Linked DNA regions of Homo sapiens: regions 1, 2, 4, 5, 6 and 7 are each linked to region 3. The links are contacts of gene promoters, found by promoter capture Hi-C in blood cells and fetal thymus (Javierre and others, 2016). All regions are on one chromosome and are shown on one strand. Each heading gives the region's core, a stretch centred on a gene start or on the middle of the fragment in contact. The rest is flanking DNA. Distances are from core to core; before and after follow the strand shown. Region 1 overlaps SH3KBP1 (SH3 domain containing kinase binding protein 1). Region 2 overlaps SH3KBP1 (SH3 domain containing kinase binding protein 1). Region 3 holds the start of SH3KBP1 (SH3 domain containing kinase binding protein 1). Region 4 has its middle 11 kb from the start of MAP3K15. Region 5 overlaps SH3KBP1 (SH3 domain containing kinase binding protein 1). Region 6 overlaps MAP3K15 (mitogen-activated protein kinase kinase kinase 15). Region 7 overlaps SH3KBP1 (SH3 domain containing kinase binding protein 1).

Region 1 (3,944 bases), core at 523-3,022, 260 kb before region 3:
CTTCAATGATACCAAAGTAAATGTCAGAGGAATTCGGGGTCTATCAGGAACCTCTACGGCGAACACAGAATTTAGAGAACAGCAGTTCAGGTCTTTCACCTCAACTCCTACATCCAATAAATATGCGTATCAGAATGCATATTAAACAGATCATGGTGAAACCATTCATTTTATAATAGCAATAGTATACAATCATCTCAATGAACTTCTGGGCGATTCCTAACTTAGAGGAAGAGTAACAATCTTCTATAATGTCAGCAGGGTTTTACAGGCTCCGACTCCATTCTTCCCACTTTCAGCAAGCAAAATATTTATGGCATGTTTTCTTTCCAAATTCTTGCTAAAATCTCCTCCACTGTGAACACTTAACTATTTTAGGTGGATTTTTCACCATTTTAACCTACTTAACGTCATGGCATTCCAGCCTCAGCAGCAAACTGGGCTCAGACACAACAGCCCTTCCATTCCCACTTCCAGGGCCCAAGAAAGAGCAGCCAGGGTTGGGTGACAATTCCTAGAATTATGGGTGCCACTGACAGACTCCTCCCTGCCAGAGTAAATCCTCGCAGCAGCCCTGTGAGGTCAGCTTTATGGCCCTTGCTTTATGGCTGAGGAAACTCAGACTCAGAGGGGGTAAGCAACATGCCCGAAAAGACACAGCCAGGAACAGTGGAGCTGGGATTCAAACCCTGGTTCTGGGAGCTGGTAGCCTACATGGCACTTGTCATCTGAACACACCGCTTCCGGCAAACTGGAATGCTAGGTTAAGGCTGGCAGGCATTTTATGGAAATAAAAGTAAAAATCTGCACAAGCACAGGATAGCAAGAGATTTGATTTCCCAGCAGGTTGTATAAAAAAATAATAAAAGCAAAATGATAGAGCACAAAGGATTTTCTTAAGCAGCAAGCTCTAAAATGGGCCCAAGCAGCATGAGTTAAGACTGGCTGTGTGATTAGCTATCCAAAAAAACCCAGCAAACTGGAAGCCGGGTGCAGTGGCTAGGCCGGCTGCAGTGGCTCACGCCTGTAATCACAGCACTTTGGGAGGCTGAGGCGCGTGGATCACTTGAGGTCAGGAGTTCAAGACCAGCCTGAGCAACATGGTAAAACCCCGTCTCTACTAGAAATACAAAAATTAGCCAGGCATGATTTACTGTACAGGCACACACCTGTAATCCCAGCTACTCAGGAGGCTGAGGTGGGAGAATCGCACGAACCTGGGAGGTGGAAGTTGCAGTGAGCCGAGATCACACGATTGCACTCCAGCCTGGGCGACAGAGTGAGACCCTGTCTCAAAAACAAAATAAAGCAAAACAAACAAAAAATAGCAATGTGGGTAGGCAGAGGGCATCTCGGGCATCAGGAACATGGTCTGAGTCAAGTTAGTGAGGACACATAAGCAGGAGGGGGATATACGGGGGGTACCTGCAGAACAGCCACATGGACCAAGGCCACCAAGACAGACTGAGGTCAGGACGGGTGAAGGAGTGCTAGGATCATCTATCTGGATTTTACAATAAAGAAAAAGAAAGTTACTAAAGATTTTGATTGGTGCAGAAGGGTAAGTGAGCACAGCAGTGTTAGAGAATGACAAAAAGAAGGGGCTGAGGTGCTAGGGATGAAGTGGGTAGGGGACACTGGAGTGGGGGGAAACATCCCTCCATCCTTCACTACCCCAGGGCTCTCCTCCAGACCGGGTGCTATGGTGGGTGATAGAGAAAGAAGGATGGAGGAAGCCTGGTCCTTGCTCACCTGGCCTGGACAGATACAGAACAACTCAAGCCTGTGCTTAGCTCTGCAGGGCAGGAAGTGGCAGGGATAGAGAAAGGCTTGTGGGTGGGAGCAGGGTGGGACTAGGAGGACCAAGTGTCAAAATGGTGATATGAGAACTCTAGGCCTGAGGAGTTGGATCAATGTGAAAGTCAGGTCAACAGACCAAGTGTACAGCAGAGATGACAACGTCATGTTTTGCAAATATAATATTAATAGCAGTGCGCTGCTTCAGTTTCTAAATTGCTTTCAAATACGTTAATCTATGAAACCAGAGAAATGGGATGTAACCTTCACAACACTCTTGAAAGCAGCTTGCCACATCTACCTGTTCATTTATCTGTACCATGTGGATGGGACCGATAGATACTCCCTTTCTGACTAAGGTCATTAGAAAAATCACATTAATTTTTATCAGACTGGATCTCAGGCTGGGAGGTTAGGAACAAAATCATCAAGATGAATGTGTTCTCATTATGATATGTATTCAAATGGAAGGACTGGAGTATAATATGTCAAAATAGAAACAGATGTGTGTCTTTTCTCAGACCTCATTAAATATTATTGACATACCAGGTTTTCAACTAAAAAGAGGCTCCCTCTCTTCCAAAGACAAAACAAAAACAGGCTAGTGAGTCCCCCGCTCCCTCCCACTGCAAAGAATAGCAGTTATTTAATTCTCTGGTTGCTTTATCATCAAGGGGGAAAAAAGCACTCTAGCCCTTTCCCAGTATTTCTAAAACCAAATTATCTGTGCTAATTATTACAGCATTCGTATTGTGCTTCACACCCATTTAACAACTTCCTTATTCCGCTTGTTTGGTTACAGGTCTGATTAAAAATAGGAAATGCACTGTGTGTCAGAAAGCAATCTGAAAGAGACAGAAAAGAATCACTTCTGCCTCATTTGCAGAAAACAACAAGGGAAGCATTCTTCCCCTCATTTCCTCCTGCCATGTTCAACACCTACAGAGACATACTGAAATAACTTCAGGGGAGAATACTTTACAGGTAAAAAGATGGACGAGTTCTTGGGTGATCTGCAAAACAGGGAATGATTTGCTGTTCCAGAAAGCATTATATACTCCATACCACTGTTATATGGAGTCCATGAGAGGACCAGCTTTCTCCCTAAAACTCCTGACCTGTGGCAAGCTAGTTAACTTCTTGGGTCATTAGTTCCCTGACATGTTTGGATTTGGCTCTTAAAACACACAATCTCTAAAGCCATGTCTTAGAGGTAACCTCTTGATAACAAAGGCAAATCTTACTGATCACCTTATGGACAAGCCCTGGGGGAGGGGTAGGGCCAGGTGACACCACAGTCTCCACCCTCTCAGTAATGGCCACAGTCGGCGGGACCCTGGGCCTACTCCCACTCTATGCACCTGCAATCTCTTCCCCTTCCCTGCATCCTCCACCCTGCCAAGGCTTCCCAGCCCTGCGAGAGCGAGCGCAGGCAGCCACGATGATCTCCCAAGTCACACTTGTGCTAAGGGAACTGTGCTAAGTTCCCTGTCACTCCCCTGAATACAAGAATAAAACCACCATACACATCTTCAAGACCATTCAGCTTCTTACCATATTTGACCATCACAAAAATGCTGTTCTTCAGAGAAAAAGTCATATATTCTGGGTATTGCTTAAATAATATATCTTTCAACCACCTACTTGGTGAGTACCATTGTGTGAAAGCACACAAAGTACACAGCCAAGGCCCTTGTTCAATTGCATCACTTCACACAGATTTTATAGCTCTCTGTTTATTTACAGGGCTCTGGCTCTAATAATAATAAAATCATTCAATCTTCTTAGCCCAAACGAGACAGGAAAAATTCTCTCAGGCACTCTACCTGTCTTTGATCTGAACAGCAAACATTCTTTAAGCGTTTTCTGCCTGTGAGGCATGACCAGCGTTTTAAAAAAAAACTCCTCCTCGGATACCTCAGGACACAGAGCTCTGCAGCCTGGCTGCTGTGGAGGGCAGGATCTCCAGCCGAGCAGGCTGCCTTTTGGGTTATTCCTTCTGGAACAGACTTTTCTGAAGGACCATGCAAATCTGCAGCTGGTCCTAAGGCAAACAAATCTATTCTCGTCTCAACGAATGCATTCACTTGGATGCTGGGCTTAGCTTGATCAAAAGGAAAGATACAAGATTCTTCCTCACAAGTTCA
Region 2 (4,310 bases), core at 783-3,282, 320 kb before region 3:
TACAGGCTCCTAACCTTGGCCAAGGTTTCCAGAACATGCTTTAATGAGAGTCCATGGCTAAATAAGGATTTTGATAATTTACTTAATAAAGTGATACCAGAACAAAATACTTAATAAAATGTCGTGTGTCCATAATGCTTTTAATGTGACAAAGGGATGCCTGAGCACAATTTTCTGGTAGACTGTACATTCCTCTGGATATTTGCAAGTAAAACGGAAGCCATAACTGGGCTCTGCCAATCCATGAGCCCACAGCCAGGGGACAGGGGGAGGGGGGCACCTCAAGCCAAATAAATGCCATGTGAGATCTGAGAGCTGAACATCACCTGTTCCCTTGCTTCCACATTCATTTTCAGTTCAGAGACCTCTGTGGTGTATACTGTGGATGCAGCAAAGGTCACTATATAAGTCTCTTTGTTCTATGAGACTACTTTGAATCCACTGGGTGTACCTCCAGATTTGCATTCTTAAATCTGTAGGTACACCCAGTACCTCCAGAATACGGCACTAGAATACGGTCTCAGCATGTAGCAAACATAGAGGCACTCAAGCCATCAGACTGAATGATGAACGAGAGCGCTGGCCACAGAGATGCAGGCGACCACATTACCAGGGGAGGCAGGACATGCTGACTCTGCACATAGGTGAGCATTTGGGGCTGCCTGCAAGTCCACACAGCTACTAGCCTCTGTGACCCTCTCCAAGCCAACAGCCATCTGAATTGATGCTCCCTAAATGTCCCTCCACCTCTCTCAGGTCAGCTATTTTGCAGGCTGGTGGGTATAGAGCACTTGGGTAGGACAGTACTAATTTGCTCTCTGTATATTGGAATAATTCATACCACCAAATGCACTGCTGCAGTGAGGTTCTGCAACATTTGCCATCATGTCCCCACTTTGACGTAATCTCCCCCTGTTTCTATAGCATTTGTGAGGCTTTTCCTACAGGCACTTTCAATGTTTACTGAGTTTGCGCTTATGGGATGTTATGGGGTAAAAGATGTTCGTGAAGACCCTCATAACTAAGCACAAACCCAGCCACCGTGATGGACCACCAAAGGCCAGCAGGACCGCCCTGTGCAAGGTGCACAGGCAGAGGTGAGCACCTCGGTTCTGGTGAGGATCAACATCTTTGACTGAGAAAGTCTAAGTGGAGATGCTCATTTTACACCCAAGATCAGGCCCTTCAAAGGGCCCTGAAGGACCATCTCCTGTAGGACTGGAGGATGCCTTTCGAAATGAGTGCTGGTTGCCAACTTGACCTTGTTTCCTCAGCAGCACACCTCCACTGTGAGCCTGAGAGGCTGGGAACCAGGGGAGGGCTCAAGGGCGATGCAGGGAGAAGGCCATCCACAGAAGCTGTTCTGAATTAGCTACGCCTCTGTAAGTTCGAGGAAGGAACCCAAAATGCTCAGAGGATTGCCTGGGTTAAAAACCCATCAATCAGAAGCGCAACCTGTTTCACTTCCTTTGTATAAAGCGTTTGACCCTCAGCACAATCTCTTTTGCTTTCTGTCATCACACTTGAGAAATGTATAGTGCTTTTCAGCTACTCCTGACAAAAATTTAAGTTTGATCACGATTTGTGTCCCTAGATAGGGACCGGAGCTGCACACGTCCACACATGGGCACCGCAGCCCGTCATATGCAGACTTGACTGTAGACCAGTAGCAACCGTATCTCCTGTTCTTCAGCACAGGTAACATCAACCATGTCCTTGGTCCCAAAGGCTGTGTCTGAAGGTTGCCAGTAAGGAGACAGTGTCTGTAGGAGCCAGCCGTGGCTCTTCAGTGAAAGTTCTCATGTCTGAGCAACTAATCCCGAGAGAGCTGGAAGGCGCGGCTGTTGTTCACACACACGCTCAGCCAGTAGTCAATCTGGAACACTCCAAGTGTCATTCATGGGTTTTTGTTTTTTTTTAATGGCAGGCAGGACACAGTATATCTTGTTTTATTGAACCTGAGCAATTGCTCAATGATCTGACATGCTGCAAGGACCAATAACTGGCTCTCTGGCTCCAAAAGGGGAAGTTTAAAATATGTATTTTAAAAACAGGACAGAAAAACCAATAGCCCCAAGTCAGGAGATCTGAATTTTTCCTCAAAATTTGTATGAGAAACCCTTAGAAGTGATTTATTATCATGAAAGGTAGAAATTGCAAAATAAGGTAAGAATGTAATCACTTGTTTGTAGACATTTGGTGTCACATTCACAAAAATGTTGTGTTAATGGTCGCTATTACAATTGCTCTCTCTTGCTCTCCTGTATAACTTTACCATACAGAGTACAGATTTAGAACTTAGTATTGATCAAATTTGTTATTGTCCTTTTATGTAATACCCGTTTAAACACTGGGTAGTTGATCTTTGGCAAATATCTAATCACAAATCCAATACTCTTTCTATTTGAAATCAGACTCAAATGGTATCATTTCACTTGCTGCAAGCCTTAAGATGGCCCCTCTCCCCTCTCTTCTCTCGCCTCTCTCTCTCTCTCCCCCCCCTTCCTCTTTCTCTCTCACAAAGGTCACAGTCATGTCCTTGGTTGATGTTTAATTACTTCAAATATAATTACTTTTTTGTATATGAAATATTTTCAAACTAGGTTTTATAGAGATTCTCAGGAAATGAGACAGGCCACTCCAGGGAACACAAGTTGCACTTGCAGGGGAAGCCTGTCCTCTTCCTGTTCCTAACACAGACTGGGCTCTCTGGGCCTCGGTGCTATTGACATTTGGGGCTGGGTCATTCTTTGTTGTCTGTGGGGGCTATCCTACACACTGGTGGATGGTTAGCAGCATCCTTGGCCTCTATCCACTAGATGCCAGTAGCATCTCCACCCCCACCCCTATGATGTGACAGTCAAAAATGTCTCCAGACATTGCCAAATGTCCCCTTGGGGAGAGCAGTTGAGAAATGCTGATGTGGACCTAGAAGGTTTGGGCTCATGGGTCAGAGAGACCTGGCTTCAACTCCAATTTTTTTTTTTTTTTTTTTTTTTTTTTGAGGCGAAGTCTCGCTCTTGTCCCCCAGGCTGGAGTGCAGTGGTGCAATCTTGGCTCACTGCAACCTCCGCCTCCCGGGTTCAAGCGATTCTCCTGCCTCAGCCTCCCAAGTAGCTGGGATTACAGGCGCCTACCACCACACCCAGCTAATTTCTGTATTTTTAGTAGAGACAGGGTTTCACCATGTTGGCCAGGCTGGTCTCGAACTCCTGACCTCAGGTGATCTGCCCGCCTTGGCCTCCCAAAGCGCTGGGATTACAGGTGTAAGCCACCGCGCCTGGCCTTCAACTCCAATTTCTTACTAGCCAGATAATCTTGCTCAGTTTCCCCAGCTTGCTTTCTTCCCTGTTCCTTCACTGTAAAAACATGAGTCATTACACATCCTTCATAGGGCTATGGACGGTGAGAAAAAAATAGACAAAACATTTAGTGGGCACCCAGTGAATATTAGTTCTTTCTTTCCTTACTCTTGCTTGCTCTCACTGCTCTTATTTCAACACTAGAACCTCAGGACGATGGAAGAGGGGAGATGAAGGGGGAGGGTTTGTTCTCCACTATATTAGCAGAATGATTCTAACACAAGGATATTCCACACACAGCTCCTGTACTCACACTGTACCTCAACGAGGATTAAAAGTTATAAAGGCATGTTCTACCCCAAACATGCTTACAAAACACTCTTAATCCTTTCTAACGCTTTGGGATTATTGTTTCACCAGGGTTGTAATCAGCTACAGATCAAAGTCCAGGTGGACCTTGATTTTTTAAAATGGTGTACAACAATACACACATTTAACACCCTAAGGGGACGTTTTACATTACAAAATGATTACTAGGTTTTGGAGACCTTTTTTTTTTTTTTTAAGATGGAGTTTTGCTCTTGTTCCCCAGGCTGGAGTACAGTGGTGTGATCTCGGCTCACTGCAACCTTTGTCTCCCGGGTTCAAGCGATTCTCCTGGGCTGAGGTGGGAGGATTGCATGAGCCCAGGAGTTAGAGGCTGCAGTGAGCAATGATTGCACTGTTGCACTCCAGCCTGGGTGACAGAGCAAGACTATCTCAAAACAAAAATACCATTAACTTGAGAAGATATAGCCTTCTAGGATTAATGTCTCTGTGGCAAAGAGAGAGAGAAAACCAAACCTCAGTACTCTATTTCTGGGCTCCCAAATATATGCAACTGTGCTTAGTTTCCACAGCATGAAAAGCTTCTATAGGTGAACCCGCCCCCCCATCAATACCCCCAATATTTCCACACTAGCTCATCAGACTGAAAAACATGTGATTCATATTTTCATGATAGCGATC
Region 3 (4,285 bases), core at 536-3,035:
AAACAAGAGTGAGCTAAGTGTTCTGTCCCCAGCAGAGGAGGAGGATTTCATGCCCCTCATTCATTCATTCAACAAATATTTAGGTCCTGCTCTGTGCCACACACCAAAAGTGCTGAGCAAACTATGCAACACTGTGCTGTCCCTATGGTCACAGAGCTTACAGTAGAGGAGATAACTGTTACGCACAAATATGTAATACTGCTACGAAAAAAAAAGGTGTTGTATGAGAAAATGGAACAGGAACCAATTTAGACTACAGGTGGGAGAGAAGGGCACTGTGAAAAAAGTGACATTTAAGCCAAGGGGACAACAGATCACCACTACTTAGAAAAGGAAAACCTTTTTTGGCAAATGACCACAAATGGGATTTTAACTTTGCCTGTCAACAACGGACTGGGTTAAACCTCCTCTTTTCCAATCCTTCAGGCTTTCTGAACATCCTGACTAGTGTACTGGAATCCTATTACCTGAACACAGAAAGGTCTCACTTTATTATGATTTATTATTATCTGCAGCCTTCCTATGCCTGGCCTAGGAACATCCAAAAATAATCTGCCAGAGGCTGAAAAACAGAAGCTGGCTGTCAGCAAGAACATTACCTGGGTAGACCAAACATTTAATAGCCCAAGTAATCATAAGTGCCTTGCCAATAAAGTGGCAGCTTCTCTGGGCAGCAAGGTGGTTCCAATGCTCCGGGGTCTAAATCAAATGGGACCCAGGGGGTTCAAAGGTTAGTTGGCTACTTCGAACTGATGTTTACTCAGTAAATCAAAGACCGGATCACCATTTCCAGGTCCCAGACCCTGAAGACTTAAAGGACAGTATGGGAAGTGGCCTTTTAGCATCACGGAGCAGAGAGCTCGCCAGGCTGGAGGAAGGCAGCAGCGAAAGGGTCGGGGCCGGGAGGAAGGGGGGCGCAAGGAGAGGAGCGTCAGGTGCTCTGGACCCCGGGACTGCGAGCCAGACCAGGAACTGGGGCGTTTCCCGCCCCACCCCCCAACCCCTGTCAACCCCCAGCAAAGGCAACCCAGCCCCCTCCAAGACCCCGAGGTTCCAGCTTCCCCCGAGACAGGACCAGGAAGACACCAGCAGCCCCGCGCAGGGCCGGAGCCCACCAGGTCCGGGTGCCCGTGTCCGCAGCGCAGAGGAGGGCGCGCTCGGGTGCAAAAATGGCCAAGACAAAACTCTCCCCGCCCACCCGAAAAACCAACCACACCCCCTGCATCCCTCAGCCCGAGCCGCCCGGGGCCAGCCCCCGTGATCGTCTGCTCAGGCCCCCGCGGGTTCCCGTCGGCGCCGCGCGCGGGCTCGGCGGGCACACGGGCGCAAGTGGGAGTGAATGGGGGTGCGCGAGGCAGGCGAGGGCGCCCACCGCGGTGTCCCCCGTCCGGACCCTGCCCCCGGGGCGCCCTCCCGGGCTCCGCGGTTCTGGGACTGGCGCGCCGCCCTCAAGGCTGAAGTGGACGCCCGGACGCGGGCGGCCCCCACTCACCCATTGGCGTCGAGCCGGGCCGGGCCGCCGAGGCAGCGTGAAAGTTGGCGGAGGCGGGCGTGGGGGTTGGGGCGCCGGGATCGGGGCGCTGGGATCCAGGCGCGAGGGTCCGGACGCGGCGGCGGCTGGGCCGGCTTCTTCCTCAGTGGCGGCGGCGGCGGCTCAGCGCCGCCCGCTGCTGCCTCTGCTGCTGCTGCCGCTGCTGCCCCGGGGCGACTCCTGCTGCTGCTGTTGCATCGCGGCCCAATGCGCCCGGCTGCGCCGGGTTTCCTGCTCCCCGCGAGTGGAAATTGCGAAAAAAAAAAAAAAAAAAAAAAAAAAAAAAAAAAAAAAAAAAAAAAAAACAGCGCCGCCCAGCCCAGCGCCCGGCAGCCGCGGCCGCGCCGCCCGCTCTCCCCTCCTCCTCAGCGCTGCCGCGAGGCTCCTGCAGCTCCGCCTGCCGGGGACGCGCGGCCGCCGGGCGGGGGCGGGGCCGGAGAGGGGCGGGGCCGGGGCCGGGGCCGCGTCGGGGCAGGCGCCGGGGGCGTCCCTGCGGCTGAGGGGCTTGGGCGCCCTCCTCACCGCCCGCGCCAGAGGCACCCCTCTCCGCGCGGCTGCCACCCACCCGCAGCGGCTGGGCTGACGCCCCGGGAAGTGCCGCGAGACTCCTCGAGACCGGAGGAGAGGGGCTTCTTGGGGGAGGGGCGTGGGAGTGCAGGGGCACGTGGAGAAGGAGGAGAAGGGGGCTGAGCGGGAGGGGGCGACAAGAGGTGGAGGACGGGCTGGGGATGGAGACCAGGGCAGGCCCGGGGCCAAACGCCTGACCAGGGTGATGGCAGGTGGCCCTGGGGCATCGAGGCAATCTGGAATGAGTTTTCCCGGGGGGCTGTTGGAGGGGAAGGAAAAGGGTCCCTTGGAAGGGAGAGAAACGCGGCGTCCCTTCGGTGGGGCGTGGGAACGCAGGCAGGCCAGGTGCGAGTTCCGCACAGAGGAGGCGGTGGCACTGACGTGGGGAAAAACGGGCGAAGGACGCAGCGGGGCCGAGGGGACGCATCGCCTCGCTGGGACCCGCCTAAGCCCCGCCCCAGTGCCTGGGCCAGGTGCGGTTCGGGTGTTCAGGAATGTTCCCGAGCTCTGACGTTCCCAGGAATCCGCTGAGATGAGGGCTGGCTCCCTCCCTAGCAGGCATTATTGTGCCTTACTGACTCCCAGACCTGGACGGCCGACCCTTGAGTGGGCGCTAAAATGTTAACAGGGAATCCGTGGGCATTCGTGGGCAATTCAGAAGCTCCGTTTTGGGTCCATTCACCACCACACCTTTCGCCATAGATACTCTGCCTGCCACCACATTCCTCTACCGGCCCGTTATTTCCTTTTCCCTTTCCACCATCTGGTGGTAGGAAGCGATAGTGAACTACATGGGAGACATTTAGGCAAAGAGCACGTAAGACAATAGAGAAATTACATCAGTGGCCCCTGGAAATGGAGGAGGCTGAGGGCTAGTGGACTCAAAAGGGACAAATGAAAGCCGACCCCCTACCCAAGAGAGGGGCTGTCTCCATACCTCACCTGTGTTGGCGGGGCAACTCTTGTAAATTGGTTACCGTCCTGGGATTTCTGTAGAAAATTGTTCTTATAACTGTTTCATGAGTTTTTCAAAAAACCTCAAAGTCAGGGTCTTACAAACAAGAGATCAGTAGCATCATCTTTCTAAATACCGTTCATGTGTGTCAAACCGATCGAAATAGGAGACTAATCAAGGGACAAGAGGCCCATCCACACAGAGGCTGCAATTGAAGTCCTAGTGTCATCAATATCAGACTCCTAAAAAAGGGATCAGAGAACACGGAGATTAAGAATGTGAAGGCCGGGCGCGGTGGCTCACGCCTGTAATCCCAGCACTTTGGGAGGCCGAGGCGGGCGGATCACGAGGTCAGGAGATCGAGACCATCCTGGCTAACATGGTGAAACCCGGTCTCTACTAAAAAATACAAAAAATTAGCTGGGTGTTGTGACGGGCGCCTGTAGTCCCAGCTACTCCGGAGGCTGAGGCAAGAGAATGGTGTGAACCCGGGAGGTGGAGCTTGCAGTGAGCCAAGATCGTGCCACTGCACTCCAGACTGGGCGACAGAGCGAGACTCCGTCTCAGAAAAAAAGAAAAGAAAAGAATGTGAAGTGGGCCAGGCACGGTGGCTCACGCCTGTAAACCCAGCACCTTGAGAGGCCGAGGTGGGCGGATCACCTGAGGTCAGGAGTTCAAGACCAGGCTGACCAACATGGCGAGCCCCTCTCTCTACTAAAAATACAAAAATTAGCCAGGCGTGGTGGTGCATGCCTTAGTCCTAACTCCGTGGGAGGCTGAGGCACAAGAATTGTTTGAACCTGGGAGGTGGAGGTTGCAGTGAGCCTAGATGGCGCCACTATACTCCAGCCTGGACGACAGAGCGAAAAACTCCGTCTCAAAAAAAAAAAAAAAAAAAAAGAATGTGAAATGTTGAAGGCAGGGATGATGAATACTCAAATATTCCTCCTCCAGGCACCCTGGTGCCTCACTCATTACATGTCTTGTTATATCATGTTCTAATCAGGGCAATCAAGCCTTCTGATACCATCTTAGAGTTGACAAACACTGAAACTCACAGAGCCTGGATAAACCCTCTGCTACTGGGACATTTTTTTTCCCCCAACCCCAGAAGAACTGGTATGGGGGTCTGCTCAATTCCAGAGGTGGTTCTCTTTGGTAAGGCCGTATCAGTGGGTCATCCTAACCCTCTCTCAAAGAGCCTCAGACCCCTGAAAGTGATGGGGTACATT
Region 4 (4,090 bases), core at 1,060-3,559, 360 kb before region 3:
TTCTTCAAATGTTTGGTAGAATTCTCCAGTGAAGTCATTGAGACTTGGAGATTTCTTTTTCAGGGTGTGTTAATTACAAGTTCAATTTTTTCTAATGGTTATATAACTATTCAGATTGTCCATTCTATCTTGGTTAAGTTTTGATAATTTGTGGTTTTCAAGGAATTGGTCCATTTGTTCTAAGATGTTGATGTCATAAAGATGCCCAAGATGTCATAAAGTTGTTCTTATTTACTATACTTTTAATGGCTGCCTTCTCTCTTTTTATCTTTTTCAGTTTTGCTATCTATCCAAGTAAATGTAAATATTCAAGTCTACTGATGAGCCCATCAATGATAGTCTTCATTTCAGTTGCTGTGTTTTTTATTTCTAGCCATTTGATTCTTATAGTTCCCATCTCTGCTGAAATTACCTATCCGATTTTGCATGATGTCTACTTAGGTTGTGAGAGACTTTAACATAGTAATCGGGCTGGTCACGGTGACTCACACCTGTAATCACAGCACTTTGGGAGGCTGAGGCAGGCAGATCGCTTGAGCTCAGGAGTTCGAGACCAGCCTGGGCAGCATGGGAAAACCCCATCTCTACAAAAAAATACAAAAAATTAGCTGGCTGTGGTGATGCATGCCTGTAGTCCCAGCTACTTGGGAGGCTGAGGCAGGAGGATCACTTGAGTCCAGGAGGTTGAGGCTGCAGTCAGCCGTGATCACACCACTGCACTCCAGCATGGGCTACAGAGTGAGACTATATCAAAAAAAAAAAAAAAAAAACTAAAACTAAAACCATAGTGATCATAATTATTTAAAATTCCTGCCTGTAATCCCAGCACTTTGAGAGGCTGAGGCAGGCAAATCACCTGCAGTCAGCAGTTCGAGACTAGCCTGGCCAAAATGGTGAAACCCTGTCTGTACTAAAAATACAAACGAAAAATTAGCCAGGCATGATGGCATGCACCTTTAGTCCCAGCTACTCGGGTGGCTGAGGCAGGAGAATTGCTTGAACCTGGGAGGCAGAGATTGCAGTGAGCCGAGATCACATCATTGCACTCCAGCCTGGGTGACACAGCAAGACTTCATCTAAAATAAATAAAATAAAATAAAATTCTCTCTCTGATACTTTAATAGCAATGCCATATCTAAGTCTGAATCTGATCACTTGTCTCTTCAGAATGCTTTTTCTTTTCTTTTGGCATGCCTTGTAATTTTTTGTTGAAAGGTGGACATTGTATATAGGGCAGCAGATACTAAGATAATAAACCTTTAGTGTGGGACTTTATGTTGATCCAGCCAGGAGTTGGGCTGTGTTGAGATTTGTTTTCCTATGAACATTACAAACTTCAGATTCCTCTAGTGATCTTTTTTTGTCCCCCACCTCTCTTGGCTTTGGGGCTTCCCTTTGTGCTGCTCCCCAACGTCTGTCTCTTGCAGTCTTCCCTGCTATTGTTATTCCTGGAGGCTTGTTAGCATGCTGTTGGGAGATGGATTCTCTAATATTCTAAACTTCAGTCTTTGGAGTGCACAGTGGGCTTGTGTCTCGGGTGTAACTTTCACAGTTGTTTCTGTTTCTCCTCCAGGGACAGAGCTCCCTCCCATTCCCTTCTCCCAGCTGCAGTGGGTATCTACAAGTGTTTTCAGTCTATAGACTTGAAGCCCTTTTCTCTGAAGGTTGAATTGTTTTTAGTTGAGATGAAGAGCTAGAGTTGAGTGCAGTTCCCTCCCCTAGTTGCAATGGTAATTCACCAGGGCCCTCGGACCATGTCTTTCCCCATGCAGAATAGCCTTTTGTTCCTTAAGGGAGAAGGGTCTGAGTAGATTTCTCAGTGGTTCCTGAGCCAGCACCATGAGTTTTCTCTGGATTTCCCCTGATCTTCCCTGTGAGAACCAGGTGGGGTTCCTGGAGGAAAAGCCTGCAGAAGGATGACAGTCTTTCTTAGGAGCTGCACACTCTCAAGCTAGCCCACAGTTGGCTTCCAGAAATTGGTCAAATTTTCTAGCCTGACCTTTCTACCTAGTTCTATGGCATCTGGTGGTTTCTGCCCTTGGTAACCAAATGCTCAGATCCTGTGTCTTGCAGGAAGTGCCTAGCCTCTTTTTTTTTTTTTTTTTTTTTTTTTTTTTGAGACAGGGTCATGCTCTGTCACCCAGGCTGAAATGCAGTGGTGTGATCACGGCTCACTGCAGCCTCAAGGCTCAAGTGATCCTCCTGCATCAGTCTCTCAAGTAGCTGGGACCACAGGCAGGCGACACTACACCTGGCTATTTTTTGTCCCTTTTGTAGAGACGGGGCCTTGACATGTTGCCTAGGCTGATCTTGAACTCATGGGCTGAAGCAATCCTCCCGCCTCGGCCTCCCAAACTGCTGGGATTACAGGTGTGAGCCACCACACCTGGCCCAGATTTTCAAATGGCCATTTGCTCTTTGAACTTAGTTCTCTATTAATTTCCAGTCTGTCCAGACTTTTTCTTGTTGTTAGCACAGGAAGGGATTTCATGCAGCTCTTCCATATCTCTGAGCTGAAACTGGAAGTCCTATCTATTCAACCATATTTGATCTAAAAAAAATGTTAGTTTCACATGTTTCAACCAAATAGACTACGGCATTATTTCTGAGTAGTGCACCTTGTTTTGCTTCAGCCAAGGACAACTAGAGATTTCTGGAAAAGATTGCTGTCAGCTACTCTACACACAACTCACTGGGAATGAGTTGATCCCCCCATGATGGTGGTCTTCAAACTTATGCGTGCATCAGAATTACTGAGAGGACTTGTTAAAACACAGATTGTTGGGTTGCTTTCCAGAATTTCTGATTCAGGAAGTCTGGGACAGGGCGCAAGAATTTTCATTTCTACCAGGTTCCCCAGTGGTGATACTAATGCTGTTCTTTTGGGGATCACATTCTAAGAACCACTGCTCTATGGCTCTTCCTAGAAGCTCAGCGCTTATCTACCTTTCCCACTTACTCATCACTTTGAGGGCAGATGGTTTGCCCTGAGAGGGAGCAATTAGGTTCTCAGCTGACCTCAGAGAAGAATCAAGAGTCAGCAAAGAATTCCCTTTTTTTTTTTGAGACAGAGTCTTGCCGTCACCCAGGCTGGAGTGCAGCCTGCAAGTCACCCAGGCTGGAGTGCGGTGGCATGATCTCAGCTCACTGCAACATCCACCTCCCAAGTTCAGGTGATTCTCATGCCTCAGCCTCCTGAGTAGCTGGAATTACAGGTGTGTGCCACCATGCTGGGCTAATTTTTGTATTTTTTAGTAGAGACAGGACTTGTTGGCCAGGCTGGTCTCAAACTCCTGTCCTCAAGCAATCCACTCGCCTCAGCCTCTCAAAGAGCTGGGATTACAGGCATGTGCCACCATGCCCAGCTAATTTTTCTATTTTTAGGAAAGATGGGGTTTCACCACATTGGCCAGGCTGGTCTCGAACTCCTAGCCTCAAGTGATCCACCTGCCTCGGCCTCCCAAATTGCTGTGATTACAGGCTTGAGCCACCATTTTCAGCCCAGAATTCATTTCTTTTTTTTCCTCCAGAATGAGTATAGGAAAAAAAAAAAAAAAACTTTACTTTCTAAAACAGAGGTAGCCACAGGTTTCTAAGTAGTGACTGGACGTCTTAGAGAAAATGGTGTTCAGATGACATGAACTTGGTTTTGAGAACCATCGTAATGCAAGAAGCACTCTCCTTAGGGTCCGGGTGTTGGCTGAGACTCATATAGAAGTAAAGTGCTCTGAAGGCTTTCTTTGTATCTGTTTCTTTTGCTGTGGAGCTTCCCTACTGCCCCAGTTTTGTACTAAAGTTTTAGTAAAGGTCAAACCGGGCTGCTCAAATGTATAGAATAAATTGCATTTGACATCAGTCACAATTACCAATTCATCTATTCAGTCAACTACATATCAAGTGATTACTATTAATATATATCTGTCAATGTTTTAGGTGCTGGGGATAGAGCAGTGACAGAAAAGTCACTATCCTCAGAGTGGTTTCATTCTAAGGGAGGGGAGATTGAAAACAGAAACAAAGCAAGCAAGGGAAAACAAATGAAGGAGGTGTTGATATGGGGACTCTGGGGGTGGGTCAAGGCTAAAGTTGC
Region 5 (3,895 bases), core at 302-2,801, 340 kb before region 3:
CATTTCTGGAGCAATGATCACATGCCGGACACCGGCTAGACAATTTGAGCAACGATCGGTTGGCACAAGCATTTTACCAAGCAGAAAACTGAGGCTTAGAGAAGTGGCTGAGTAGTTCCCCAAGACTCATAGGTAATAACTGGCAGAACAGGGGATCAATTCCCTATCAACTGGATCCCTCAAGTCCAGCACTGTGACTGTGGCTGCCTGAGTCTGAAGATTCGCACTCTCCTGTCCTCTCCTTTGCTTGTCATCTATTCCTGGGCTTATGCCTTTTCCTGTTGCCCATCCTGCATCCTTGCGGACCTCCCATACTCCTGTGACCCACCAGTGCCTTTGCACTGACTGACTTCCAGACACTTCTTGAATCAATGCTTCTCTTGGCATTTCCTATATGACACGCTCTCCCGGCCCATTTCGGCTACTGAGCAATTTTAAAGCCCTCACAGAGTATAGGCCACCACCCTCCCTGATCAAATTAGTTCAAGTGGAATTTCTAGAAGCACTGAAGAGCACAACATGACAACTCCGGGGAAGAGAAATAGGCTAATGGGATACAACTGTGTACATCAGAACCACGAAAACCCACTGTCCACCAGTAGATGTCACTGTAGAGACACCCCAGGGATGTCAAATGAAACTATACCTATGGTCACCAGAAAAAACGGGTCTAAATCCAACTTCTGCAGATGGAATCCTTTTATAAAGAAAGAATGCTTTGGTTTTGTGAATAATTACAACTGATCTGTTGTATAGGATCACGTTTTGCTTACTGTATCAGATTTTTAAGAAAATCTATACATGTAAATTCTTAAATCTATGGAGAAGGAAAATTCCACGGTAACCTTTGATTTCTTTGTGCTATTCCTGCTTCAAGTGACTATAGTTTTCTGCTTTTAGACAGAAAGAAGTTGCTAATATTCAGAGAAAATAATTCCAATTGACTTGGTTTTCTTAGTGGGAGAAAATGGAATTTTAAAATCTTGGTTCGTATTCACAGGGAGAGAATTTGTACAAGATGCTCCTCAAAAGTTACATGCAGTAGCTAAAAGTTAAATGTCTTCCTTGTTTCTCATAAACTAATAAAGTATCTATACTACTCTCTGGGCATGGAATAAAATTAAAGTGTTTTTAGACTATAAATTTATCATAGAATGTGACTCCAAATCAATTTTCTTTAAGAGACCACATTAGTTATTTATATTTATGATCTTCCAACTATAATTTGTGACCAGCTTTGAACATAAAAGACAAGATCTGTGGGCAGAGGGCACAGCATTTAATATATTTAATGTCTTCTCTCTAGACGTCTCACGGCTTTTTAAATTGTTCTGGTTGTGGTGATGGTGGTAGTGTGTGAAGGTATTTGTGAACGTGTGTGTGATGGTATGAAGAGGAGATCAAACCACAAGAGAACAACATGGGAAATAAACAACTGAACTTGTATCTCAGGGATTCTGCCTAGTTTCGGAGACTGCAACATGCCTTGGGGATTTTGATGAGTAACAGAATCGCTGTCACTGAAGAATGACAAACACCTGCACTGTTTGTGTATCTTTGTTTGGTTTATAACCCATCATTAGCACATGCATGAAATGACAGGGACACCCTCGCCATGGCTGGTGACTCACTTGGGATATGGTAACAGTCTTGGAAGTTTTCTTTGACGCGTCCACTCCTCTGTGCGCAAGTGAAATGTGTTCCTCCTTATCCTCTTCGGGACTTGGGGAGTCGAAGATATCAGGGCTTGAAAGGGATGACTGATAAAGCCAAAAGAAAATGCTTTTGTCAGAATTACACCTTAGCTGACACCACTTTCGTTAATATAATGCTGTATGCTTTAAAAGCACTCGACACTGCTATTTTGTCTTCTCACGATAACCCTGTGAGGCAAAAAAGTGTGCTGTTATGCACGCGCTCAAGTCACATAGCTGATTAGTGGCAGAACTGCGACTAAGAAGCAAGGTTTCCTAAACCAGGGATCTTGCCACTGATGTCCATCAATCACTTCATCCTTGCAAGCATCCATCGTCCATCCTTTCCTGCTCCTTCCTCTAAACATTTGCTACCATGTGCAAAAGCTGCAGTGAGCTTGTACTGCAGACTTAGTGACATGCCACACAGGATGCCTGCCCTCACAGGGCTGACAGTCTACCAGGGAAGAACACACAGGTCAACAAGAGGCTGCTCTAATCTGCCTCTCCTCCATTCCCTCCTCTTCCTTTTCCTTGACCTTTTCCATGATCACTAAATCTGCTGCATACGGAAGTGCCCTAAAGGATGTGTCTGAGAGAAAACCATTTCCAGGGATAAGGGCTCACCAGGCTTGTGGTCCAGTGACCAGTGTTTCCTCAGCTTGAGAGCACAGCCCTGCTCGCTAGTGCAACAAGCTCATATCTCCTTTGGTACCTGCTGCTAAATCTCTGCCCTCATTATTGCTGACAGTCAACATTCATTTTGGAGTCTGTATGGCTATAGTATATTTACAGAATGGCAGCATCTTTTGGTAAAATATAGGACGACACCCCTGTTCTTTCTGCCTCACTGTGAAGATCACTATAAAGATAAAAAAGCCAGATGAGGCCAGACACAGTGGCTCACGACCGTAATCCCAACACGGGGATTATGAGGCGGGAGGATCTCTTGAGCCCAGGAATTTGGGACCAGCCTGGGCAACATGGCGAAACTCTATCTCTACGAAAAATACAAAAATTGGCCAGGCATGGTGGTGTGCACCTGGAGTCCCAGCTACTCGGGAGGCTGAGGTGGAAGGATCACTTGAGCCCCGGAGGTCGAGGGTGCAGTGAGCCATTGACATTGCACCACTGCACTCCAGCCTGGACAAAAGAGTGGGACCCTGTCTGGAAAAAAAAAAAAAATTCTGGACCAATTCACTGGAATTCACTTGGTCATAGATGATCACTGGGCTAGAATTTCCCTATTTTAGAACAAAGCAAATTAAAATAAGAGTTCCTATAGCAAGGAATCCTTTATAATGAAGAATCTTCCACAGATCTCTTTGAGCAAGCTCATCTTCAGCTTCATCTCTATGCTTTCTACCCTGGTGGTAGAAAAACAGTCCCATTTAAAATCACCACTTGGCGTCATTATAGAAAAATTATACCCAAAAATATCGTATGTTTTCTTCTGTTTACTTAAGGCAGAAACCTAATGCATTTTAGGGAATTTTTAAGCAAATTTTTCAATTTAACAGGTTTTATTTGTTAATCTTCATTTAATCTGAAAATCCAATTACCTAGAATAACGTTTCCCCCACCACCAAGCCTTCTTATTAATCTAGGCTTAACGCTTAGCCACCATACCATGCCTGAATCCTTTCATTTTGAGATTTTATTCAAAAAGCCAGTTCCCTCCATTACAACCTAGGGTTCATGAGCTGCCAATCAAAGCTTGCTCTTTGAGTCCTATAAACATAAAGAACTTCAGCTAGGGTCAGAGGCCCCAGGCTGGGGAATCATGACTGGTGCATTTCCTCCATCATTTCCCCCAGTGGCCTTTGAGGAATACGCCCATATCCACTAAGCCTCCACTTGCCTATGAAAAATCCACAGGTGCTAACTGAAGAAGAGTAAATAGGAATTCAATGTACACATCCAAGTAGGGATGAATGGGAATGAAGAGAATATAATATTTATACTTTAAAGCACAAATATATCCTTTTGTTTTAAGTCTGCAAATGAAATCACTTCATATAAAATGCCAAACTTCAAGTCATTGTGCCGTAAGCTTCCTGCAGGCAGTGACCATGTGCTTTTCATTCCAGTTGTATCTTTGGTACCTGGCACAGTGCCGAGCCCATAGGGGATAGATGTCTATAAAGAGTTGTTGAATGAATGAACAACTGTGTAGTCTGAAGGCAGTGAAGATGATATAT
Region 6 (3,945 bases), core at 1,074-3,573, 500 kb before region 3:
GGTCTCCCAGGAAGTTGCAGTCCAGATGTCAGCTGGGGCTACAGTCATCTGAAGGCTGGACTGGGGCTGGAGGATCAGTTTCCAAGCTCACTAAGGATAGAGCTAGTGGGGGGCTTCAGTTTTTCATTACATGGGATCCTCCATAGGACTGGTTTGAGACATGGCTTCCCTCAGAGAGACTGATCCGAGAGAAAGAGGAATGGCACACTGCCTTTTATGACCTAGTGTCCAGGTCACACACCATCACTCCCACTTCTTCCTATTCATCAGAAGCAAGTTGCTAAGTCCAGTCCACATTCAACGGGAGGGAACTACGCAAGGGTGTGACTATCAGGAGGTAGGGATCATTGGGGGTCATTTTGGAGGCTGCCTGCCACAAATCTGACTCCTGGTGAGCACTTGATGGCTTACCAATTGTCTCCACATAGCCTTGTCCATCTGACTCAAACGACTCTGGAAGGTTAGGCAGAGGAAGCACTATCTACCATTATTCCTACTTTACACAGGAGGCAACTGAGGTTCAGAGAGGCTAAAGGATTCGCTTAGGCTAGAACCCATATCTTCTACCTTCAAGTTCAGAACTACACACCATGACATCACTCATCCATACACTACATCAAGAAGAAGCGCTGCTGGAAAAAAAAAGCTGCCTGAATAAGAGTAGCACGTGTAAGGATTTCCAAAGCCATATTGGAGCATCTTTCCATGTAACTGGAAGGTACAGGGCACTAATGGAAAACTGGGTGCTCCATTTTATTCACTACTGTATTCACAAGGTAACCATCCACTCTCAGAACAGCTAACAGAGAGAGATAAATGCACACAACTATTTCAGATACTCAAGGGAACACTCCCTGGCAGGATGCATGTTGGGTGTGTACATCAGCTAACCCAAAGGCTGGATTCTGTCAAGAAAACCAAGTGAAGATGGCATTGTGGGGCATCTGAATCACGCACAAATCCTGGAAAATTGGGTTTCCTTCAATCTGGCTCTCATAGGCCAGGCACGGTGGCTCACACCTGAATCTCAGCACTTTGGGAGGCCGAAGCAGGTGGATGGCTTGAGGTCAGGAGTTCAAGACCAGCCTGGCCAACATGGTGAAACCCCGTCTCTACTAAAAATACAAAAATTAGCCGGGCATGGTGGCGTGTGCCTGTGGTCCCAGCTACTTGGGAGGCTGAGGCAGGAGAATCGTTTGAACCCGGGTGGTGGAGGTTGTACTGAGCCATGAACGCGCCACTGCACTCCAGCCTGGGCGACAGAGTAAGACTCCATTTCAACAAAACAAACAAACAAACAAAAATCTGGCTCTCTTGGGGCCCCATATGCTCCCTAACCTATATTTCCTCCAAGGTATGCCCTACCACACTGGTCACTGGTCACAGCCCACTACGGCTCTTAGGTACCTACACCAGTGCAGTGGTGCAGAGTTCAGAACAAGGTGACCAAGAGACCCACAGGCACTGACTCAGCCCCCCTAGGGCACAAAATCCACTGGGGACTCCTGGAGAATTGTCCAATAGGATTTTCAGATTACCAGCAAAGAAGACACACAGCAGAAGACACAAGTTTATAACCGAGGCCCAGGGACCTTCTAATCTGATCAAGGGGCTGAGAGAGTTGACAGAGTAGTTTAGGGGGGTGGTGCTGAGACAGCTTCTTTAGAGAGAGCTATGCTGGGCTGCCTACCCTCTCCCAAGTTACAGGATTTGGGGCAGGACTGTCCCCAAAAGGGCGTGGGCCCAGGGCAACTCAAGCCACTCAATACCAACTTATGATCATCACATCTTCCACAGGCCCTTGGAGATACCGTTAGAGCCTAAATTTCAAGATTTCATATTAATCAAGTACAGAAAAGAAAAGTAAGGTACGATTTTCCCATAGTCCAGGGGACTACCCTAGTTGACCTGACCAAGGGATAAGCCTGGTGGAAAGGTGGCGCCACTTGTTCCTAACCCAAAGCCTTTGAAGGGGGCTTCACTGAGCGACTCAGCTCCATGTGTATGTGTTCCTGTAGGTAAATTACACAGTGGACTGGCACCCAAGTGAGCAAAGGTTAACTTCCAGCAGCAGACAGGGGGCTGTAAGGTGTGGGGATACTGCCACACCCTCTCAACAGTGGGCTGAAGCTGCTTGAACTCTGGACACCAGATGGGGGACCCTATTACAGAAATACTGCCTTAGGGTTTATCTTTTATTTGTATTATTTATTTGATTGATTGACTGATTGACAGGGTCTCATTCTGTCGCCCAGGCTGGAGTGCAGTGGCACAATTATGACTCACTGCAGCCTCATTCTCCTGGGCTCAAGTGATTCTCTCACCTCAGCCTCCCGAGTAGCTGAGACTACAAGTGCGCACCACCACACCCAGCTGATTTTTATATTTTTGGTAAAGACGGGGCCTCACTATGTTGGCCAGGCTGGTCTCAAACTCCTGGGCTCAAGCGATCCTCCCACCTCAGCCTCCCAGAGAGCTGGGATTACAGGCGTGCCCAGCATATGGTCTTCTTAAAAGGAATCCTGGGAGTCTCTCTCAGAACCTATTCTGGTTCCAGGGGCTGCCCAATAAAAAAATAAAGAAAAAAGAAAAGGAATTCCTGCTCAAACGCAGTCCTCCACGATCTGAATCCCTCAACAGAAAGAGATGGAAGGAGGAGGTGATGTAAGGGGTAAATAACTGGGAGGAGGGGGCTGTCAGCCAAAGGACAGGCCCCTGCCCACGACACAGGAGTTACATCCAGAGGGAGCCAGCGAGGGAAGATAACTAAACATCAGCCAGGCCCACAGCACGCAAAGCCAGCTTCCAACAGTGCTAGTCAAGTAACAACTTTCCCTGCCCCTGTCCTCTCCTTCCTGCAGCTGGTGATTAGGGAGAAAAAGACAACACCCAGCTCCTGACCACAGGTCGCTGCCTGCAGGGAGACGGGAGAGGGGTCTGACTTTTGAATGAGGACCAGAGCGTTGATCAGTATCAGCCTGAATCTTTTTTTTTGAGACAGGGTCTTGCTCTGTCACCCAGGCTGGAGTGCAGTGGCACAATCGGCTCATGCAACCTCCGCCTCCCGGCTTCAAGCGATGAGTCCTTTTTAATTCCTGAATTCAGACTGTGTGCGCTCCTTCAAGTGTCATTATGACTTTCTCTGTTATGTAAGGGTGGCTGGAAAAGTCAAAGGAAAGAACTCCCGCCCCAGGCAGGATGAAAAGTGGGAGAGAAAAATCCAGTGGCTTTTGTGATTACACCCTTTGAGTCCAATGGGTTCAACACGTTAGTTACACACACAAACTCAGTTCTCTCAAAGGCTCCTTCCAGCTCTAATAACCCATGACTTCTAAGTACAAGCGAGTATTTAATTAGCAAACACTTCAATTGCACTTGCTATGTGCCAGGGACCAGTCAAAGCACTTCATCAGTAACTCACTTTACCCTCATAAAAACCCTATGAGTAGGTACAACGAGCATTTCTATTTTACTTACGAAGAAACTGAGGCACATGGAGGTTAAGTAATATGCCCAAGGTCACACAGCTAGCAAGTGGTTGGGCCAGGATTTGAACCAACGATGTTTGCAGCCAGACGAGAACAGACTTCCTGTCCCGAGTTCTCCCTCTAGGTATCTACCCAAGAAGGCTGAAAACACATGTTCACACACGCTTTGTATGTGAATGTTCACAGCATCATTATTCGCAGTGGCCAAAAAGTAGAAACAATCCCAAATGACTGTTAACTGGTAAACGGATGAACAAAATGTGGTTCTCCACACAATGGAATGCCATTCAGCCATGAACAACAACGAAGTACCCATACACACCACTGCATGGAGGAACTGCAAAAACAGGACTCAACGTGCAAGAAGCTACATGCAAAACCCCACATATTGTATTCATTCCAAGCATATGAATATCCACAACGGGCAAAGCCACACAAACACAACAAAGCAGATGAG
Region 7 (3,769 bases), core at 1,250-3,749, 280 kb before region 3:
TATGTCTCACATTTGTCCTCCGAGTCCAATTCCACTTCTACCGCCTGACCCAGGGCTCATCCAGCCTACTGTAAACCTCCTCACTTGGGCAACGCTTCCTGCCCAGTATATATATAATATACACACCACTGTCAAATATAAAATTCCTTGAATAAAATCCCTGTAATCAGTTAATCTCCATCCCACTTCAGGCATCCTGACCCTGAGCCTGCTTTTTGTCCTATAGCAGACTCCCAAGTCTCGTGATCAACAACTTCCAGCTGAAGCCCAAAATGAGAAAAGGCTTTCCAAAAAACAAACAAACAAAAAAACCTGCTGATAACACATAAGGGAAAGCAAGAAGGTGACAGAGAAAGAGAGGAGATCATGTTCAGGGCCCATGGAGAACCCATGGTCTCCACGACACCAGTGGGATTAGAAAAGGGCTCAAGTACCAGATGTGCAGCTGGCCTAAGGCCTTGCTGTAGGGCCCTGGGAGAGCCATGGCTTGTATGGCTCATTTGTACCTTGTTAGATCATACATTCCAGCAAGGTGAGGAGCACATCTGACTTTTCACCATTATACCCCCAGCCATGTACACAATGCCTCATATAATAAGTATTTGTAGAATCAATGCAGACTCTTTCTAGCCCTGAGAGTTCTGCGATCTCCTCCAGTCCAATACTTGAATTACTGTAGAACAGGATGGCCTCTATCTGCCTAAACTCGTGGGAATTCTCTATAAGTTAGCATAAGGCCCACCTCAGGTAGCAAGTAATTCATCACCACCTTCCACTGCCCCAGTGGTATCTGTTACAAAGATAAGCTGACCCCTTAGGGTCTTCCTTAGGGAAGAGAGTGCAGATTTTGGAAATCAGTCCTTAGTCACAGACTATAAATTCTAGCCCCAACTAACAACAAAAAAAACCAAAGACCCTTGAAGTATCAAGTTCAGATTTACCCAGAACAAAACAAGGGTCCAAAAGTCTTTCAACATGAAAGGATGCTTATCTTTCTGGAAAAATGACATTGAGAAGTCCAAGTAGATAGTCTGGTCCTGCCCATGTCACATCACCCCCTGAATACTAGCATCAGTCTTCAAAGAAGGGATTTATGAACAGGAGTGGTGGCAGGATTTGGTGGCTCCTGAGGTTCTTCTGACCCTAGGATGTTACAAACATTATCAATGATAACAGAAAAACTTATGAAGGAAGCTGGGAGTAGAATTTCTTTGACCCTAACTCTTGGAATTAGGTTTCTTCAAAACTCAACTTGAAACTCACCTTTAAGAAACTGACTATGATGAATGCCTTATCTTTTCTCTAATGCTCAGTACAGTGTTAATTTGCAATTAATGATATTCAATTCAATAAACATCTATTAAATGCAAAATATATTTAAGCTCTGTAAGCACCAAACCTTAAACATGCAGATGCAGAGAACATGATCTCTAACCCCAGGGAGCTTAGAGATGTATGGGAAAGACAGACATACAATATTACGCAAGGTCCTTTGGGTAACAGGGATCAAATGAGTGCTCTAGTACCAAAAGAGGAGAGAACCATTAACAGTTTTTGCAATAATCTGAAATCTTTACATGTGTGAATGGTTTGCTTAGCTGAGGACTGGTCTTCCTTCCACATTCATTTCAGGTCATCTGATACAGAACTATGCCCACAAAAGGCATTCAAAAAAAAACTATCTTTTTTTGCAGGGAGACAGAGTCACACTCTCATTGTCTAGGCTGGAGTGCAGTGGCATGATCTCGGCTCACTGCAGCCTTGACTTCTTGGGTTCAAGAGATCCTCCCACATCAGCCTCCTGAGTAGCTTGGACTACAGGCACATGCCACCATGCCTGGCTAATTTTTCATATTTTTAGTAGAGATGGGGTTTCGCCGTGCTGCCCAGGCTGGTCTTGAACTCCTGGGCTCAAGGGATCCATCTGCCTCGGCCTCCCAAAGTGCTGGGATTACAGGTGCGAGCTACCACACCTGGGCTCAAACTTTCTAAACAGTGTAAATCCATGCTTCATCTTAGTCTTATGCAAATAATAACCCAAGAACCTTTTTTGCTTCACATGTGAGAAAAACAATATAGAAAATGTTAATGAGCAAAAGCCCATCCAGAATAACTTTGGTTTTTTTTGTGGTTTTTTTGTTTGTTTTTGTTTTTGCTTTTGTTTTGAGACGCAGTCTCACTCTGTCGCCCAGGCTGGAGTGCAGTGGCGTGATCTCGGCTCACTGCAACCTCCGCCTCCCTGGTTCAAGCAATTCTCCTGCCTCAGCCTCCCAAGTAGCTGGGATTACAGGCATGTACTGCCACACCCGGCTAATTTTTATATTTTTAGTAGAGACAGGGTTTCACCATGTTGGCCAGGCTGGTCTCGAATTCCTGGACTCAGGTGATTCGCCCACCTTGGCCTCCCAAAGTGCTGGGATTATAGGTGTGAGCCACCGAGCCCGGCCCAGAATAACTTTAGATCCCATACACCCCTACGGGAGAAAATGGTACATAATGACATTGTATGTCTCATATTTCCCCTTGGTGATGACTGGCTTGGATGGCCCATCTATATTCTGCTTCTTAAGGAAAACACTAACAGTGCTACTCATTGCATAATTCAAAGAAGAGAAGGGAAGCATGAAGGGAGAACACAATATGTCTAATTGTTCTGATTGGTACAAGAATAAACACAAGGTCCATGGATGAGATAAGTACAGTCAAAAGAGAAAACTGCCAGTGTGATTTAGTGCTACTAGCAGAAGTAGAAAAAAAAAAAAAAAAAAAAAACAAGAAAAATAGCCAAAGAAAAGAGTCTGCTATAAGACAGAAAGTGGGCACAGGGTCAGGATGCCTGGAGTGGGATAGAGATTTACAGAGAAGCAAGGCATTTTTTTCCCCCAGCAATACAAGCTAATTTAAGGGAAATAGGAATAATTTTAACAGCAAAATGAGAAGTGAAAATAAGTCCTCTTCAACAAACCAGACAAAAGAACTAGTCTTTTGATGGCAGAGATGAAGAGACTTGTATGAGGGCTGTGCTTTCGAAAGTATAAAATAGCAGCAAATTCTATTTATTTGTTTGTTTATTTGAGACAGAGGCTGGCTCTGTTGCCCAGGCTGGAGTGCAATGGCATGATCTCGGCTCACTGCAACCTCTGTCTCCCAGGTTCAAGCGATTCTCCTGCGCCAGCCTCCCCAAGTAGCTGGGATTACAGGCACCTGCCACCACGCCTGGTTAATTTTTTTGTATTTTTAGTAGAGATGAGGTTTCATCATGTTGGCCAGGCTGGTCTTGAACTCCTGAACTCAGGTGATCTGCCTGCCTCGGCCTCCCAAAGTGCTGGAATTACAGGCGTGAGCCACAGCGCCTGGCCTCAGTTTATTTACTGAGAACCTAAAATGGCTCTCAAACCTGGCTGCACACTTAGAATCACCTGGGAATTTTAAAAAAAAATGCCAATGGCTGGGCTAGACTTCTAAAATGTGCAGGACAGGAGATGAATCCAGGGGAGAAAAGAAAACCATCATGTCCTTGTGGGGCTCCCAAGCTCAGAGTCTAGTGGGAGAGGCAGACACAGTGAATCAGAATGGCACAGAAACACTGGCAGAAGTGCTAGAATGGATTTACAAACAAGTGGGACCAAGACAAGCTGGGCAGCCTGGAAGCAGAGAACAAGGACAAGAACTGAGGCAATGAGAATGGTCAAGGGCAGACTTGCTGAGCGTAAAGGAAGAGAAGAGGGAGAGAGGAAAGCTGTGCTCATGGAAGAGAATATACAGGAAT

The links. Contacts are between HindIII fragments. The CHiCAGO score rates a contact against its expected background, and 5 or more counts as called.
Region 1: a fragment that was not itself captured here is called in contact with the fragment with the promoter of SH3KBP1 in region 3 in 15 of 17 cell types (activated CD4 T cells, non-activated CD4 T cells, naive CD4 T cells and 12 more); the score reaches 20.7 in activated CD4 T cells.
Region 2: a contact is called between a fragment that was not itself captured here and the fragment with the promoter of SH3KBP1 in region 3, in 16 of 17 cell types (activated CD4 T cells, naive CD4 T cells, non-activated CD4 T cells and 13 more). The highest score is 16.1, in activated CD4 T cells.
Region 4: a contact is called between a fragment that was not itself captured here and the fragment with the promoter of SH3KBP1 in region 3, in 6 of 17 cell types (non-activated CD4 T cells, total CD8 T cells, activated CD4 T cells and 3 more). The highest score is 7.9, in non-activated CD4 T cells.
Region 5: a contact is called between a fragment that was not itself captured here and the fragment with the promoter of SH3KBP1 in region 3, in 17 of 17 cell types (non-activated CD4 T cells, activated CD4 T cells, naive CD4 T cells and 14 more). The highest score is 18.8, in non-activated CD4 T cells.
Region 6: a contact is called between a fragment that was not itself captured here and the fragment with the promoter of SH3KBP1 in region 3, in 4 of 17 cell types (total CD4 T cells, naive CD8 T cells, naive CD4 T cells and 1 more). The highest score is 6.6, in total CD4 T cells.
Region 7: a fragment that was not itself captured here is called in contact with the fragment with the promoter of SH3KBP1 in region 3 in 15 of 17 cell types (activated CD4 T cells, naive CD8 T cells, non-activated CD4 T cells and 12 more); the score reaches 23.4 in activated CD4 T cells.

The regions. Positions count from the first base shown.
Region 1 is chrX:19,627,813-19,631,756 of GRCh38, forward strand. The region is part of intron 8 of SH3KBP1 (SH3 domain containing kinase binding protein 1); the gene reads right to left. It overlaps LOC124905255 (a long non-coding RNA gene), which reads left to right and starts at 3,718. Exons shown (of 2, transcript XR_007068406.1): 1 at 3,718-3,944. The HindIII fragment of the contact is 4,373 bases long and covers 1-3,944 here.
Region 2 is chrX:19,562,076-19,566,385 of GRCh38, forward strand. The region is part of intron 13 of SH3KBP1 (SH3 domain containing kinase binding protein 1); the gene reads right to left. Among named protein-coding and RNA genes, the nearest start is that of MAP3K15, 49 kb to the left of the region's middle. The HindIII fragment of the contact is 4,351 bases long and covers 1-4,208 here.
Region 3 is chrX:19,885,815-19,890,099 of GRCh38, forward strand. It overlaps SH3KBP1 (SH3 domain containing kinase binding protein 1), which reads right to left and starts at 1,786. Exons shown (of 18, transcript NM_031892.3): 1 at 1,493-1,786. The coding sequence starts at 1,496. RefSeq lists silencers at 1,188-1,327, 1,808-1,877, 1,938-2,237. The HindIII fragment of the contact is 9,463 bases long and covers 1-4,285 here.
Region 4 is chrX:19,524,280-19,528,369 of GRCh38, forward strand. No RefSeq gene overlaps it. Among named protein-coding and RNA genes, the nearest start is that of MAP3K15, 11 kb to the left of the region's middle. The HindIII fragment of the contact is 7,748 bases long and covers 1-4,090 here.
Region 5 is chrX:19,544,291-19,548,185 of GRCh38, forward strand. It overlaps SH3KBP1 (SH3 domain containing kinase binding protein 1), which reads right to left. Exons shown (of 18, transcript NM_031892.3): 15 at 1,632-1,760. Among named protein-coding and RNA genes, the nearest start is that of MAP3K15, 31 kb to the left of the region's middle. The HindIII fragment of the contact is 3,713 bases long and covers 1-3,408 here.
Region 6 is chrX:19,385,177-19,389,121 of GRCh38, forward strand. All of the region lies in intron 18 of MAP3K15 (mitogen-activated protein kinase kinase kinase 15), which reads right to left. Among named protein-coding and RNA genes, the nearest start is that of PDHA1, 43 kb to the left of the region's middle. The HindIII fragment of the contact is 8,970 bases long and covers 1-3,945 here.
Region 7 is chrX:19,609,207-19,612,975 of GRCh38, forward strand. All of the region lies in intron 8 of SH3KBP1 (SH3 domain containing kinase binding protein 1), which reads right to left. Among named protein-coding and RNA genes, the nearest start is that of MAP3K15, 96 kb to the left of the region's middle. The HindIII fragment of the contact is 5,933 bases long and covers 1-3,769 here.